3 separate regions of the Homo sapiens genome follow, and all the other regions are linked to region 1. The links are contacts of gene promoters, found by promoter capture Hi-C in blood cells and fetal thymus (Javierre and others, 2016). All regions are on one chromosome and are shown on one strand. The core of a region is centred on a gene start or on the middle of the fragment in contact, and the rest is flanking DNA. Distances in the headings are between cores, read along the strand shown. Region 1 holds the start of LDLRAD3 (low density lipoprotein receptor class A domain containing 3). Region 2 has its middle 120 kb from the start of LDLRAD3. Region 3 has its middle 94 kb from the start of LDLRAD3.

Evidence for each region. The method cuts DNA at HindIII sites, captures the fragments that hold promoters and counts their contacts. A CHiCAGO score of 5 or more calls a contact.
Region 2: a fragment that was not itself captured here is called in contact with the fragment with the promoter of LDLRAD3 in region 1 in 2 of 17 cell types (endothelial precursors and erythroblasts); the score reaches 6.7 in endothelial precursors.
Region 3: a contact is called between a fragment that was not itself captured here and the fragment with the promoter of LDLRAD3 in region 1, in 1 of 17 cell types (endothelial precursors). The highest score is 6.6, in endothelial precursors.

Annotation. Positions count from the first base shown.
Region 1 is chr11:35,942,020-35,945,580 of GRCh38, forward strand. It overlaps LDLRAD3 (low density lipoprotein receptor class A domain containing 3), which reads left to right and starts at 2,043. Exons shown (of 6, transcript NM_174902.4): 1 at 2,043-2,125. The coding sequence starts at 2,080. RefSeq lists a silencer at 1,954-2,393. The HindIII fragment of the contact is 2,245 bases long and covers 494-2,738 here.
Region 2 is chr11:35,819,264-35,822,824 of GRCh38, forward strand. No RefSeq gene overlaps it. Among named protein-coding and RNA genes, the nearest start is that of LDLRAD3, 120 kb to the right of the region's middle. The HindIII fragment of the contact is 741 bases long and covers 1,344-2,084 here.
Region 3 is chr11:35,847,812-35,851,372 of GRCh38, forward strand. No RefSeq gene overlaps it. Among named protein-coding and RNA genes, the nearest start is that of LDLRAD3, 94 kb to the right of the region's middle. The HindIII fragment of the contact is 2,030 bases long and covers 802-2,831 here.

The DNA.
Region 1 (3,561 bases), core at 793-3,292:
GGCATGGTGGCGGGTGCTTGTAGTCCCAGCTACTTGGGAGGCTGAGGCAGGAGAATCCCTGGAACTCGGGAGGCGGAGGTTGCAGTGAGCCAAAATGTGCCACTGCACCCAGCCTGGGCAACAGAGTGAGACTCTGTTTCATAAATAAATAAATAGATAAATAAATAAATAAATACAACAGTTGACCTTAAATAAGGTTTTACATTAGTCCAAATGATTTCAAAGACATTAATATATTTATATTTAAAAGTGTGTGTGCCTGTGTGTATGTGAGAGAGAGAGAACGAGAGAGAGAGTCAGAGTCAAACTTGCAAAGTAAGGAAGTTGATGTGTCCAAAGAAACCTAAGGAAATAAGAACTATAGCAGTGGGTCAGTTGCATTATCTTTCCGTATCCCTAATGTTTGGAGGCAAATGAGCAGCTGTAGGAGAAATTATTTGCTTATTTGCCTCCTCAGATATTATTATCAAAGGCAGGAGGCCTCTTCCCAACAAGCTTCCCGGAACAATGCACATACCCACATGCACAGGACATTTTGCATAAAATTTTAAGGGCTTTAAAATTCTTTGAAGCCCATGGGACGATCTCCATAATATTCATCAATCCCAGGATAAAAGCCCCGAATGCCAAATCATTTAGATAATTGATTTATATTTTCCATGTGTACTATGAACTATGGAACTTAACCTTTCCTCCCTCACATCACATTTTCTCATTACCTTGAACAATCATTGGTATTTTTAAATTTTGACCTGATCCTTTTTAGCCTTTATGTTTCCAGACTACAGCACGCAATTACAGAGTAAAGTAATTGAATCTTAACACCCTTGAGGGTGTCTCCAGGGCATCCCAAAATCTGACGCAGGCATCCCTTTTATAACTGCCCCTGTACCCATACCTTCCCCTTTCTTTCAGCCAGGTGGAGTTTGTGTAAATAAACTCAACCCTTTTGAGGGGTGGATTTTAGGGATGCAGTTCTATTGTTTTGACAAATGTATACAGTTGTGTAACTACCTCTATAATCAAGATTAGAACAGTCCCACTGCCCCCAAAAGTTTTAATTTATTGATCCATTTATCAATTGATGGACACTTGAGTTGTTTCCAGTTTTTGGCAATTATTTGCGTTAGTCTTTTGCTTTTTTTGGGTGGGGGATCAGAGAGAGTGGAGCACAGAAGTGTCATCCCCTTCTTCCACCATCTAAGTCTTTTGGGGCTTTTCACCAGTGCCCTCTGGAAGCAAGTGCATTGGTGCAGCTATATTTTTTGCATTTGGGTATCTGCCTTTCATGACCTTTTCCTTTTTTTAATTTTATTTTTTCCAAATTGGGTCCCAAACGTTCAACAGGTCAAGGTGGACACTATGCAGACAAAATAACTCATGTGGTCCACGCTGTGTGCATGGTAGGTGTCAGCTGCTCTTACCGGTGGCTCCCGGATCATCAGCCTTGGAATCAGCCACCATGTTGTTAAAAATGCAGAATCTCAGGCTCCACGCCAGATCTACTGAACCAGAGTCAGTATTTTAACAAGATCGTCAAGTGTGCCGGATGCATATTAAAGTTTGAGAAGCACTGGTATTCCACACTCGCTACTAAAAATATACTACAATTTTCTCATAAGATTTGACCCTTTATTTTAACTTTTTCTCTCTCGGTAGTAAACTCACTTTGTAGTTTGAGTAAAGAACTCAAGTTTTGGTCTGGGCGCTGCATCTCGCTGGGTGTGGAAGCAAAGGCAGAAATGAGAGGGACAAAAGGAAGCAGAGAACAGAGCCCAGGCTGTTAGAAGATCCTCGCGGCCAGACCTGGGAGGCTGAAAGGCTGAGAGACCGAAAGGCTGAACCCTCCGCCGCGCTCGGCGGCCCCTCGGAGTCAGGACACCCAGGGTAACATGCGGGTGGCCACGCGCAGCCCAGGCGCTTGCAAAACTTAGCGGAGCCGGGCCGGGGCCGGGCCCGGGGAAGGCGGGAGGGAGGAGGGCCAGGCGGGAGGGCGGGGACGGCGCGGCGAGGGGCGGGGTCAGCGCCGAGGCCGCGGGGGCAGCAACGACGCCGGGCAGCGGGAGCGGCGGCCGCGCCATGTGGCTGCTGGGGCCGCTGTGCCTGCTGCTGAGCAGCGCCGCGGGTGAGTCGGGGGGCGGCCGGCGAACTTCCCGCGGGGCGCGGGGCGCGGGGCGCGGGGCGCAGCGGCCGGGTGCGATCGCGTCCTCTCCCGGGCGCGGGCCGCTCTCCGGGCGTGGGTGAGCGCGGAGGGCGGACCCCGGCGCCGGGCTGGCCCGGACCCTGCCGAGGGGCCGCCGCGGGGTGCGAGCCGTCCTATTGTGTGGGCGTGCGCGCCGGGTCGTGTTGTGCTGTGTGCGCGGGCGGGGCTCTGTGTGCAGTCCGGGTCTGGGGAGCCCGGCGGCTGCCCCGATTGGGCGTAGCTCGAGTGTGGCTGTGTGTGTGTTGTGTGTGTTGAGGAACGGAGGCGGGGAAAGGAAAGGAGAGGAGAGGAGAGAACTCTTCCCTGGTCTCATCTTCCCAGACGCCTGGTCGCGCGCGGCTGCGTTAGCCTCCTCTGGGCCTCTTCCCGAGTCTCTGGCGTGCACTCCGTGCCTCAGTTTCCCCACCTGCACCGCGGAGGGAGTAGCAAAGCTGCTTCCTTTCATTCCTCTCTGGGACTGTTTGGTTTGGGTAAAGTGAGTTGAAGCAAGGCCGGATCTGGGAATTCATTTTTCCCCACTGATCCTGGGAACCGAAGCTTTATTTAAGACGTCTGACCACCCTACTTGCCCCGCGATGGGCGCCCTGACCGGCGAGGGGCCCTGGGAGAGGACACGGGGCTTCATCCGGCGGCCCTTTGAACCTGGCATCACCACCGCGTGTGCATCCCGGGGCCTGGACCGCAGCAAGCCTCTTTCCCTTCCAGACAGCGTGCTGTTCCCAGGAACTTTTCTGCTGATGTGGGCATGATCCGAATTCCAGCCTGGGAGCCCTTCCTCCTCTGCCCCTGCCCGCCGCCCACAGCTGTCAGCTGTCCCTCCTGGACTGGGCCCGCCCTTGGCCCCTTGACGTTTATTTCTGGGCATCTGATGCCTAGAATGTGGGTGACAGGGCCCAGTGAACTTTCTTCAGCAGAATCTTGCCTGCCTGGTGTTTGTGCCATCCACATGTCCAATAGCTGCCCTATTTTGCCAAGTGCTTCTAGCAGCTTGGCTGTCGAGGTGTCTTTGGTGGCCTGTGGGTTTGCTAAGTTGAGGCTCACTTCATTCTTAGCTGTGCCTTGGAGTTATGAATGCGTTAAAGGGATATCTCCTCTCTTCCTTGATGTCCCTGGTCCTGGGCATCCTCACAGCCCACTGGGCAGCCTTTCCTGCTCTCAGACCCATGACATCATCTCCACTCCTCTGATACCCCATTTAGATGCTTATGGGTTTGCTGGGCTTCCAGGGAGGGACTAGACCTCCTGGTGACTGCTGTGGATTTTTAACCAGGTCTGGGTGAGAGTGCCCTTAAATTAGTCCACCTGGGGAGAGAGTTCTCACAGGACATTGGGCAGCCAGGAGCAGGTGTGAATTGTTT
Region 2 (3,561 bases), core at 464-2,963, 120 kb before region 1:
TGGGGTCTCACCCTATCCACTTCCAAATGGCTTTCAAATTATTTCTTCCAATCCCATACAATTACCTCCCTGAAAGGAGTTCTTGGAAGTGCAGTTTTGTCCATCTCATTAGTGAGGTTTTTGCAGCACTGCAACCCCCTCCCCCAACAAACTGGTCATATGTTGTGTGTGTGGTGATCAGGCTGGTGATTTAGTGAGGAGCCCACTCCTCATCTAGAAAGTATGCGTGACACCCAGATCACAACACTCCCCATGTGGTCACCGGCTGTCTCGTACAGAGTTCATGAACTTCCAAGTAAGAAGAGACACAAGAGTGGTATTTTCTTAGGAGATTATTAGACCCACCAGAAGGTAACAAGAGCATTTAGCAATGATAAAGAATAAATATCCCCACTTACTGGGGCAGCTCTCTTTCCTGTCTCTTCCTCATCCCTTTCCTCAGCTTCCTCCTACTCCTCTCCCAGAAATAAAGGAGCTTCATCTAGAAGAGCTCATGGACAACAAACATGCCTGGAAAAAGCTATTGCCTGATTGGCTCCCAGTTTTCATTGTGATGTTTCACACCTATCAAGTGACTTTGTTTTTAGAAATGCACAACCAAAGTATGGCCTTGAATTGGATCAACCCACCATCTCACTTCACAATACTCAGCCTAACATGACAAAACCACCAAGACAACCAGTTAATTTAACTGGAAAAAAAATCAGTTCAGCCAGTTGTTTGGCAGAGGTTAAGTAGAACTGTGTTGATTGAATTATGCATTTTAAAAGGAGGTTGCATAGGTACAGCTGAAGTGAAATCCTTTTGTGACCTTGAACTTGGATTTTTATATCAACATCAAAGATTTATTAATGAAGGCTCAAGATTTCCAATAAAAACTTTTCCAATTAAATGTTTCCAGTTGTCTTCCTTTCCCAGGTGAAGTGGCCAACTTCACTAAGCCCAGTGGCTGCCTTTTGCCCAAGCTCTCTATTCTTGAAATAGAGGTAAGTTGTCTTTGAGTGAATAATGGGAGGCATTCTAGATCAGAATGCCTGGGTCTGGCATTTACTAAGTCATTTTAAACCAGTAACTTATATGCCCTTTGCCTCCATTTCCTCATCTCCAAAATAGAACTTGCCACACTGGGTTGATAAGAGGATCAAATAAGATAATGGGTGAAAAGTGCTTAAAACCGTACCTGGCAAATAGTAAGTTATCAAGAAATGAAATAGTTATCAATATTAGCATCATTATCATAACTTGATTGGTGTAGTAATAAAACAGGTTATTGGATAGGAAATTTGGTGGTATCCAACCCCATTTTTAGAAATCTTCCTGAAAGAAATATGACATAGGTACAAAGCTTTTTGCATAAGAATGATCATGTAGCATTGCTTTTAAGGGCAAAAAATGTGGTAATGACGTCAGTATTCATTAATAGGGGACGGGCTAAGTGTCTGAGGATCTGTCCTTGTAGAAGAACACTCTCCAGAAAATCAAGGTTAGGTTTGTCTCTGCTGACTCAGCCCAGCAAACAGTGCTTCCGAAAATCACTGAGGCCTCCAAGTTCAGATTGGCAATCACAACTTTCCTTCCTGCAATCACAGAACATTCTCTGGGAAGCTAATCAGGATGACTTATCTTTAACTGGGAAGAGTGGATTTGTGTCACTCCAGCCAAACTCTGAAGAGGCACAAGCCCTAATGAGGAAGAGATCAAGGAACATTGTTGAACGATACCCTGGTTCTCAGTATAATCCCATCTCACGACTGTGACCTTCAAGTCATAGGGCCAGTAGAGTAGGTCAAATGAGTTAAAACCCTAACTTTTGGACTTTGATAACCTTCCTTAGAGCTCTCTACTGTGAGAAGAAAAGGTCATCTGCTAGGCCATGTTCAAGCAAAGAAAAGTGGGATTTTTCCCATCTCTCATGATTCCCCAATCCCAATCCTTTAGGGTTTACCTATTCATGTTAACCAAAAACACTGAGTTGGAAGTGGAGCCAAGCCCCTTACCACTTTACCACTCCCTAACCTCATTCCTGTTATGTCTGATTTCTACCAAACAGGAGCATTAACCGAGATCCCTTTCCCCAAAACAAAAGCTTTGCCCATTTGAGGCTCTTGTTTTGTTTGGGCCCTTCTTGCTATCCTTCTCTTGTTCTGTGCTTCGTTTTCTCTGGGCCCCATTCATTCCAGTTTCACGAGAGAAGAGGAGAAAGTACAGACCACAAGAAGGAAAAGCATTGTAATTCTGGTTGCTTTTTTACCCACAGTCGACGACTCCTATTGTAGCAGCCGCATCACGTGTATCATTGAGCGCTCCATCGTGCCCTTGACCCTTCCTAGTCCCGGCTCCTTGTCTTGGAGCAACAAAATGAAAAAGCTGAAGGCCAGGCGTGGTGGCTCACGCCTCTAATTCCAACACTTTGGGAGGCTGAGGTGGGTGAATCACTTGAGGCCAGGGGTTGGAGACCAGCCTGGCCAACATGGTGAAACCCCGTCTGTACTAAAAATACAAAAATTAGCTGGGCATGGTGGTTTATGCCTGTAATCCCAGCTACTCGGTAGGTGGAGGCATGAGAATCGCGTGAACCCGGGAGGCGGAGGTTGCAGTGAGCTGAGATCGCGCCACTGCCCCCTCCAGCCTTGGGGACAGAGTGAGACTCTGTCTCAAAAAAAAAAAAAAAAAAAGCTGAGGCGAACGCCTCTGCGCCCCCTAGAGGTTGGAGAGTGCAACCAACAATGAGTGTGAACACATGGAAAAGCTCAGTGCCAGCCTCCAAGCTGTTAGCAATGAAGAGGGAGCTTGTGGGGCAGGCTGATCCAAGTCCCAACCGCCCTGAAGGGAGATTATAATCCCCAGTTCCTCCTCAAGAACTTCTCCATTGTAAGGCAAATCCCACTTTTCTTCTTGCTCCCATATTGGCACCTAGATATCAAGGGAGGCAAAACCAAATCCTTGGCGTCTCAGCTCTGCTTTTGTAAACCAATTTCCCCACTAATAAGAATCGGAGATTGTGTTTCCCCGTGCAGTGCCAGACCAGGCCAGCAGGGGTCTAACATTAGTTGCTTTTAACCTACAATGACTGGCTCTCCACCGTAGTGGCTGAGTGAGTGAACTTGAAGTGAAGAGCTAATAGCCATGACTGGAGAAAACAGGTATAAATAGTGCATCCATTTTTGTAGTAAGACTAAAAACAGTCCAACCCACAGGATATCGATTTTCCTTATCCACAATGAAGTGCTTGGTTTAATACACTTTTCCTGTTTACTCTGAAAATGCATTCATAAAGAGAGCTATCTTAATCCAGGATCTTGGACCATCCAGATTTCTGTCTGAAACAGTTCACTAATTGCTGTTTGGTCTCTAAAGAGGATGCCATGAGGACTAAAGATTATATAATAAAAAAGACAATGTCTCAAAAAGCAAATGTCTCCAACTTATAGATGTCATAGTTTTAAAAACAAACAAAAAAACACATGAGTTTAGTATTTCTGGATCATTCTTAAGGTTGGTATTTGAAACTGTAAGCTCAAATCTTTACATTGTCCTTGAATATATTTTCACTGTGGCTAT
Region 3 (3,561 bases), core at 567-3,066, 94 kb before region 1:
AATACAACTCAGGGATGCAGAGGAGATAACAGCATGTGGGATGCCACATGGCAGACTGTGCTGAGATGCAGTCTTTCCATGCCTCCTGTGTCAAGAGGCTGTGAGCATCTGAGCAATTGGGTGCTTATTGGGAAGCTGTGACCACCTGGGAACATCTCCCTTTGTACTTCATCCTTTCCTCTGCCTCACTTCCCATTTCTTTTAAACCTCCCTGCTTCCCTGGGATTTCACTCTTGCCAGTAAACTGTTAGCACTTACACTTTTGCCTCAGCCTGTTTTCTAGTGAGCCGGGACCAAGACACAGGTCTGATGACTGCTCTGGAGAAAGAACTGCACAAAATGAGCTTGGGCCATCTTATTGTGCCTGATAGCAAGGAAATGATGAAATATTAATGGTGTCAAGTCAAAAGGACACAAGAGCCAACCTGAAGGGGCTCCCACTGGCCAAAGATGGCACAATTTGGCATCAAAAGACATACTGACTGCAATGGATTTAAACACCTTAAATATATGTTTAAATTATGAGTTCTTAATAATACTAAGAAAAAATCATTGGCAGCTAGTTCACTGACTTAGTATTCTGAAAGATGATAAAGAAAAAGACAGGTATATGTATTATGTCTTTTCTGTAATAATTATTTCAGGGTTACAAATAGTTGGTAAGGGAAAATTCTTCTCTGTAGAAAAATTCTACCTAATAAATGCAGAAGGAATGATAGATTTGGAAAATCAGCATTTTGCAAACCTGAATGAGATAATGGACCAGGCAATGATCAATAAAAACTAACACCATTAGATAAAAGCTTAATGGAGAACTTGATAATGGCAAGAGGAAGCTAACATCTCTGAACCCACAGATCATTCTCAACATTACAGAAAGTGGGAGAAGCAGATAGTCTGTTTCTGCAAAGTGATGCAAGAGAAGACACCACCCGTGAATCTAATCAAGCCAAAATCTAACCATCAGTTTGCAGGAAATTCGGGAGACAGAGGATCAAGTTCAGCAACAACTCAGTGATGCCAACAGCCAAATCCAGAATGTGAGAAGTTCTTTAAGGGGACAAATGACTCCGTTTTGTCAACACATGAATGTGATGCATGAACTTTGTTTAGCTCCTGATTATAACAGACCAACTGTTAAAAGATATTTTTGAAGCAATGGGGACATTTGAGAATAGACTACTATGAGACGTTTTTAGGGAATTTCTGTTAATTTTATTGGGTATTGGCATTATTGTCATTCTTTAACAGTTCTTATTTATTGTAGATGCATACTAAGCTAATTTTGGGTGAAACAATATGGTTTCTAGGATTTGCCTTAAAATACTCCAGAAAAAAAATCAGAGAGAGATGAAACAAGAATGGAAAAATATTGGTAATTGTTGGAGTTGGGTGATGGGTACCCTTCTCCCTACTTTCTTGTGTATGCCCTGGTTCTTCTACTTTTGCTCCTAGGTCCATTCTCTGCCCTTCTGTGTCTTGCTCTGAGGTCTGGGAAGCCACCTTTATTGATAGAAACACCCAGACAACTTTGTTGGCTGGTTTCTGGTGAGTTGAGCTAATAGTGGTCACCAGAAGTAGATCAGGAGTGGGAGAAGGAACAGTCAGGGGATTTATCCTCCATGTACCCTCTCTGCCTTCCTGTGGTCTGACAGTAGCTTTGCTCCACTATAGCAGTTATATTAGCTTGCTGGGGCTGCCATAACAAAGTAGCACAGTGTGGCTTAAACAACATAAATTTATTTCTCACAATTCTGGAGACTAGAAATCCAAGATACAGGCATGAGCAGGGTTGTTATCTTCTAAGGCCTCTCTCATTGATTTACACATGCCATCTTCTCCCTGCATCTTCACATGGTCCTCCCTTTGTGCATGTCTGTGCCCTAATCTCTTCTTATTAGGACGCTAGTGGCTCATGCCTATAATCCCAGCACTTTGAGAGGCTGAGGCAGGCGGATTGCTTGAGCCCAGGAGTTCGAGACACCCATGGGCAACACGGTGAAACCCCATCTCTACCAAAAAATAAACAAATAAACAAAATTAGCCAGGCATGGAGGCACACACCTGTAGTTCCAGCTATCCAGGAGGCTGAGGTGGGAGGATTTCTTGAGCCTGGGAGGTCATGGCTGCAGTGAGCTGAGATTGCACCACTGCACTCCAGCCTGGGCAACAGACCAAGACCTTGTCTCAAAACAACAAAAACAAGAAAAATCAAAAAACTGGACACCAGTAATATTTGATTAGGGCTCACCTTAATGGCTTCATTGTAATTTTATTACTTCTTTAAAGACCCAATCTTCAATTACAGTCACATTCTGAGGTACTGGCATTAGGACTTCAATGTATGGATTTTGGGGGTTACACTGCCCGTAACAGCAGTGATCAGCAGACTTTTTCTGGCAAAGCATAAGACAGCAAATATTTTAGGCTTTGTGGGCAATACAGTCTGTCACCAGGGCTCAGATCTGCCGTTGTAGCACAAAGCAGCTATAGAGAATATGTAAATGAATGGACATAGCTGTCTTCCAGTAAAACTTTATCTGTAAAACAGGTGGCAGACTCCCGGGCCATAGTTCGCCGGCCCCTGCTTCCGGTGGTTAGTGCCTTTTCCATGTGTTCATTTCTCCCTGGTCTCTGCCCCTGCAGCAGAGGTGGTAATAGCTTCCCACTATTGCTAATCCTTGGGTGTGACACTTTCCCTTTTTGGTTCCATTAACCCTGATGACGCCTTCTTTGGCCCCTTCATTCAGTTCTCCTTGGGTAAACGCTTTTTGAGTGTATCCTCTCTTTCTAGTTTGGACACTGTCTGATATTTTATATTCGAAATTCTAAGCTTGAAATTGCCCATAAAAGAATCATAATGGCCGGGCGCAGTGGCTCACGCCTGTAATCCCAGCACTTTAGGAGGCCAAGGTGGACATATCACGAGGTCAGGAAATCAAAGCCATCCTGGCTAACACGGTGAAACCCCGTCTCTACTAAAAAGATACAAAAAAATTAGCCGGGCGTGGTGGCGGGCACCTGTAGTCCCAGCTACTCGCGAGGCTGAGGCAGGAGAATGGCGTGAACCCGGGAGGCGGAGCTTGCAGTGAGCCAAGATCACACCACTGCACTCCAGCTTGGGTGACAGAGCGAGACTCCGTCTCAAAAAAAAAAAAAAAAAAAAAAGAATCATAATGAGGCCAGGCGCGGTGGCTCATACCTGTAATCTCAGCACTTTGGGAGGCCGAGGAGGGCAGATCACTTGAGGCCAGGAGTTCGAGACCAGCCTGGCCAACATGGCAAAACCCCATCTCTACTAAAAATACAAAAAATTAGCTGGGCATGGTGGCCATGCCTGTAATGCCAGCTACTCAGGAGGCTGAGGCATGAGAATCGCTTGAACCCAGGAGACAGAGGTTGCAGTGAGCCAAGATCGTGCCACTCTACTCCAACCTGGGCAACAGAGTGAGACTTTGTCTGTCTCAAATAATAATAATAATAATAATAATAATAATAATAATAATAATAATAATGAAAGGAAAGGAAAGGACCGATTTAGAAGGTAAACTGGATATGAGT